2 separate regions of the Homo sapiens genome follow, and region 1 is linked to region 2. Evidence: promoter capture Hi-C in 16 types of primary human blood cells and fetal thymus (Javierre and others, 2016). All regions are on one chromosome and are shown on one strand. The core of a region is centred on a gene start or on the middle of the fragment in contact, and the rest is flanking DNA. Distances in the headings are between cores, read along the strand shown.

Region 1 (2,700 bases), core at 147-2,646, 780 kb after region 2:
TTGGAGTCATTTCACTGATACATTCTCAGCAAAGTAGGAATAGGCTGGGATCCTGTCCTCTACAAAAGGCCTGCTGCGGATTTATTATTTCTTTGATCTGGAGGTGGATGGCTGAGATTCTCTCAAAGACACCAGTAATTAATTTAACATAGCCAAAGTTACCAAAAGCAAAGACAAACTCACTTGGGCCTATTAGTTCACTGTTCCTAATTTAAGGAAACACTGGGGAAGAGTTTGTTAACTGGGGGTGAATTTGCTCCCCAAGAGTTTTCTGTGACTGCCTGGAGATATTTTTAGTTGTCAAATTTGGGAGGGAGGGTACTACTGGCATCTAGTAGGTAGAGGGCAGGGGTGCCGCTAAATATCCTACAGTGTAGGACAGGCCCCTACCCCCCAGCAAAGAATTATTCTCTCCACACTGTAGCAGTATCAAGATTGAGAAACCCTCTGTTAGAGTATTATAAAGTGTCTCCTTTTATCCTTCAAACTTTTTTCTTTTCTTTACCTGGGGACATTGTTTTTTTCTCTTCCTTTTGGTACTTTCATGCCTAGTAACAGTGAGTTAGATAATTAATCTGTCCAAATGTGATGCGAAAAATCGATGTAGTCTTAAACATGATTTACTTCAGTTTTGTAGGCAGGATTGTATAATAGGGTGAGTGCTGGCTTTGGAGTCAAACAGCCTGGGTCATCTTGGCTGTGCATTTTTTCACTGTGCGACTTGGGCAAGTTAACTTCCCTGTGCTTCAGTTTAGGGGATAACACAAATTTCAACTTCACTGGATTGTTATGAGACAGATATATCTTCATCTATGAAGAATATACCTAGATCTGAGAATATACTTAGAGTCCCTAACACAGTTTTTGGCACGTAGTAAATGTCAGAGGGTAGTGGTATTAATCATGGTGTTGCTATTAAGACAATGTAGACACTGGAGTAATGGTATGGAATGGCTGTAACGGTCCTTGTGTTCATATCACAGGTGCAAACGGAGGTTCTTCAGAAGAGGCAGCAGGAGAAAGCCCATATGATGAATGCTATTAAGAAATATCAGAAAGGTTGGTACATCTCTAATAGGGGAACGAGGGTAGCAGGTACTTTAGAGTTGATTTGAACACTTAGTGCTTTGGAGCCTTCTTGGTTGATGTGGACCTGTCGGATCAAAGTTTTGGGAATGGTGTTGGAGAGCAGGATGTGACTCTTAAAATCAGTGTAGCAAATAACAGCCTCATATGGTGGTTTAAACTTTTATTCTTAAAATACAATGGTGCTGATCAAAACTACTTCTTCACTTACAGGCTTCTCTGATAAACTGGATTTCCTTGAGGGAGATCAGAAACCTCTGGCACAGCGCAAGAAGGCAGGAGCCAAAGGCCAGCAGATGAGGAAGGGGTGAGAAGGGTTTTGGCATGGTTTCTTTGGTTCTGTGAGGTGCGATGGGGCCACAGGTCACGAGTATGGCAGACATAGCACCTCCACCGGCGCAGCCATAGAGTCCAGAGAGTGCAGCTGCTGCCTGGGGCCAGGACCCCTATGACTGTGTGATGGGCCCTTTTAGCCATGTCAGTCTTTGAAGAGTAAAAGAAGGCACTTTTTAAACTTCTTTTTTTTTTGGACAGTCTCATTCTGTCACTCAGGCTACAGTGCACTGGTACAGTCTTGGCTCACTGCAACCTCTGCCACCTGGGCTCAAGTAATTCTGTGCCTCAGCCTCCTGAGTAGCTGGAACTACAGGTGCCTGCCATCACACCCAGCTAATTTTTGTATTTGTAGTAGAGACAGGGTTTCACCATGTTGGCCAGGCTGGTTGTGAACTCCTGGCCTCAAGTGATTCACTCACCTCAGCCTCCCAAAGTGCTGGGATTATAGGTGTGAACCACTGCACCCATCCTAAGAAGGTACTTTTAAGTATGTGGCACCCTTTAAGTGAATGCTGAGTAAAGTTGATTCCCCATCACACAGTGCGATGGTTGAGAGTTCAGACCTAGGGTTCAGATCCCGACTCTACCACTCAGTAGGAGGGCAGTTTTGAACGAGTTACCATGCCTTTCTAAATGCTAATTGCCTCATCTGCTAAGTTGAGGAAATAGTGTCTGCCTCATAGTATGAAGACTGAAAGAGAGAATGTGGGCTCTCATTGTTTTTTCTAGTCTGCTTTTTTGCATACCTGGATACCAGGCCTAGGGGAAATGATAATTTCCATGTAAGATAGTAAGTGCTATGATAGAGGCATTTGGGGATTAGTACTGAGTCAGCTTTTATAAATACCTGACAGGGTCTGGGGTGGATTTCTGGAGGAGCGTTCGACTTGAGCATTGCTTGAAGCATGAGTAGGAATTAACCACGAGAATAGAAGAGAAGCTGGGTTTGGGAAGAAGTAAGAGCTTGAACGAGCAAAGCCATCGAGATGTGAAACCTCAGGGTTTTGTGAGGAACAGTAAGCCCTTGGTGTCACTGGGAATACAGTGCAAAGCAAGGAGGGGTGCAATGTGTTTGGGGGGACCTGGGCTGTGGGTTTGCCTTGTTGAGGAGCTTGGGCTTTGTCAGAAGGCAGTGGAGAGACTAGGTTGTAGGTTGTACTAACAGTAATGAGCAGGTTATATTCATGTTTTTAAAAAGATCACAGTGGATTTTGTATAAGTGACAGACTTGAGGGAAGCTGGGAAATTGACAAGGGTACTATTGCAAAAGTCGAGATA
Region 2 (2,700 bases), core at 42-2,541:
AGGGCCAGGACCCTTGGACTCAGCACAAAACAAAGGGAGACAGCCCCAGGCCTGCCTGCTCAGGACTGGTCTGGCTTCCATCCAATAAAGGAAGGACCCTTCTCCAAAGAGTCAAAACAACCCAGATTGTTTTAGTTCCAGATTATTTTCTGAGCCCTTGGCTCAACAAAACCAGGTCCAGGATGGTTTGGCATCAGTATAATTCCAGGAGACTGAGCTGCAGGTCTCCTGGGTTCCCAGTTTCCTACTGCACTGCTCATGCAGTTCCCATGGAGCTGGAACATAGCCAGTCTGGACGGAAGGCTAAGTCACAGCACCCTGAAGGGACCATCCCAAGACCCTAGAGTATCTATCCACAGGGGACCTGCCTGTAAGGAAAGACAAAAATAGCCCATTAGGGCACTGCAATACTGCCTGCCCAGAAAGAGAGCAAATGCCAGGTGCTCTGGGGGCACCATACCAGCGGGCACCCAGCCCAGGCCTGAGCTCTGCCATCAGTGACAGTCCCCAGAACTTCTGCTCTGTCACTGGAGTGCCCACCCCAGAGCCCTCATACCTTCTCCACGTTCTCCACAGTGAAGTCCAAGGCTGGTGCTGCTCCAGCCCCTGCAGCCCCCGGCTGCTCCTCCCGCCGCTCCATCTTTGCTCCCTCCCTGGCAGGGAGGTGGGCCCTGATCTGTCTCCTGCCCCAGCCCCTTGGCTGCTGGCCCCCTGCTAGACCCCGGCTTGGGTGCCCAGGGAGTGGTGGGGTGAGGGGGGGCCCAGGGCGGGCATGGCTGCCGAGGCCTCCCCACCTCGTTTGGGGGTGGGAGGCTTGCCAGAGACCAAAATTGGTGCTCTTAGGAGACCCAATGAAGGGGACTCCGAGGAGGGAGCCGTCAGTGAGGAGCTCTCAGGCGGGGATCCTAGTGGCAGGTAACAGCTCTGTCCCCAGAATCTGTGTGGAGGGAGTCACAGGGGAGGGAGGCCTGCGGGGGAAACCGAGTCCCTGGCTCTTGAGGGGTCACAGGGTCGATGGCCTGTACCCACAACACCCCCGCCTGGGTGAGCTCTCGGCTGCTATGAACAGGTCATGGGGCTGGAGGGTCACGGGAGAGAGAGAGCCCTTCGTGGTTACGGAGGCGTCCAACGAAGCGCGGAGATGCAGCTCCGCTAGTCTAGGGCGAAGAGTCCGTGGAGTTGAGGGGCTGTGGCAGGTCCCTTCCGTTCGGCCTGGCCCGCGCTGTGCTCAACGCCCGGCTACAGCCCCGCTACAGCCGCTGCCTCCGCCCCAGTGACTGACAAGACAAGCCAGGCCGGCCGGGACGGGGCAGGGACCTCGGCAAGGCGCGGGCTGCCCCGAGCGCCTGTCCCCGGCACCTCCAACTCAGGCCCCCACTCCTGCCAGTTCTGGCTCGGCACGGCCCGGTACAGGCCGGCACGGCCCAGCGGAACTGCGCGGAAACTCATTCCGGGTCCTTAGCCCTGTCCTCGCGCCAGCTCGCACTCCCCTGAGCAGGCGGTGGAGCGGCTCGCCGCCCCAGGCCGCGGCCGAGTCTAGGCCCCGCCGCTGTTCACCCTGGGAAATGTAGTCCGTGTTGCGCCTAGCCGGAAGGCGGCGCCCTGCGGAGGAGGCCGGGAGCACGTGGGTTGGGGACCTGCAGAGCCCCGCCTGTCCTCGGCCTACCGCGGCGAGCAGGCATTCCGGGTCAGACCGGCGCGGGGCGCTGCGGCCCAACTCCTTAGTAGGACGACGTGACTCGAGGGGCCGGAGGACGGAGGTGGGAGCCCGGGCTAGAGGGTGGAGGCTGGGGAGGTTGCCTGGTCACTCTGGCGCTCCGCTGCCGGGGGCATCCTCCGGCCCAGCAAAGGTGCAGCCTGGGAAGAAGGCGTCAGCACCACCCAGAGAAGAGGAGAGGGGACTTGGCACGCCTCAGGAAGGAAAAAAGGAAGGCTCTCGGGACCACCCAATAAGCAACCGGGAAACCACATACCATGGACAGTGCTCGGGGAATTTCGTAAGGTTTTTGGAAGTAACTTTATGTGTAACTAGAGTAAGAGTAGCTTACATTTAAGTGCTAGGAGCAGGACTTTGCTTACCTTAGGTTCAGTTTTCTTAATAGCTCTGAGGTGGATATTTTTATTCATCATTTTCAGATGAGATGAGGAAATCGAGCTTGGGGAAAGTTAGGCTTATCTTGCCCCTGGCACACAGACAGGGTGGCAGACCATGCCATAGATCTGGTCTGCCACAGGCCCCGGTAGTTCCTGCCTGTCACCCCTCCAGTTGTATTTTATTGTTTATTAACTCCTGCCAGCTACCCTAGCAGGGAAGAGGAAAAAATTAAAAGTGCAAAGAGCTCCGTAGTTTTGTTCAAATGGAGGAAGCTGGCATTGGAAGCTGGCATTGGCAGCAGCTGCTGAGGCCTGAGAAGGTCCATGAAGGCTTCCCTGAGAAGAGAAACTTGATCTGAGCTTGAAGAATAGAGAGCCTGGGAAGGAGAGGGGCCCATTTAGCTGGTAAGCAAAATCCAGTAGGACTCTAAGTCATTCAGCAAGTCTTCATCAATAAAGAATAGCAAGTAGGCCGGGCGCGGTGGCTCACGCCTGTAATCCCAGCACTATGGGAGGCTGAGGCGGGCGGATCACGAGGTCAGGAGATCGAGACCATCCTGGCTAACACGGTGAAACCCCGTCTCTACTAAAAATACAAAAAATTAG

Evidence for each region. The method cuts DNA at HindIII sites, captures the fragments that hold promoters and counts their contacts. A CHiCAGO score of 5 or more calls a contact.
Region 1: a contact is called between a fragment that was not itself captured here and the fragment with the promoter of IPO13 in region 2, in 1 of 17 cell types (fetal thymus). The highest score is 5.5, in fetal thymus.

Annotation. Positions count from the first base shown.
Region 1 is chr1:43,165,519-43,168,218 of GRCh38, reverse strand. It overlaps EBNA1BP2 (EBNA1 binding protein 2), which reads left to right. Exons shown (of 9, transcript NM_006824.3): 6 at 984-1,059; 7 at 1,300-1,393. Among named protein-coding and RNA genes, the nearest start is that of MIR6733, 4.8 kb to the left of the region's middle. The HindIII fragment of the contact is 3,482 bases long and covers 1-2,700 here.
Region 2 is chr1:43,945,541-43,948,240 of GRCh38, reverse strand. IPO13 (importin 13) reads right to left here and starts at 1,291. Exons shown (of 20, transcript NM_014652.4): 1 at 557-1,291. The coding sequence starts at 640. It overlaps LOC101929609 (a long non-coding RNA gene), which reads left to right and starts at 1,642. Exons shown (of 2, transcript NR_188535.1): 1 at 1,642-1,760. RefSeq lists a silencer at 1,246-1,495. The HindIII fragment of the contact is 8,694 bases long and covers 1-2,700 here.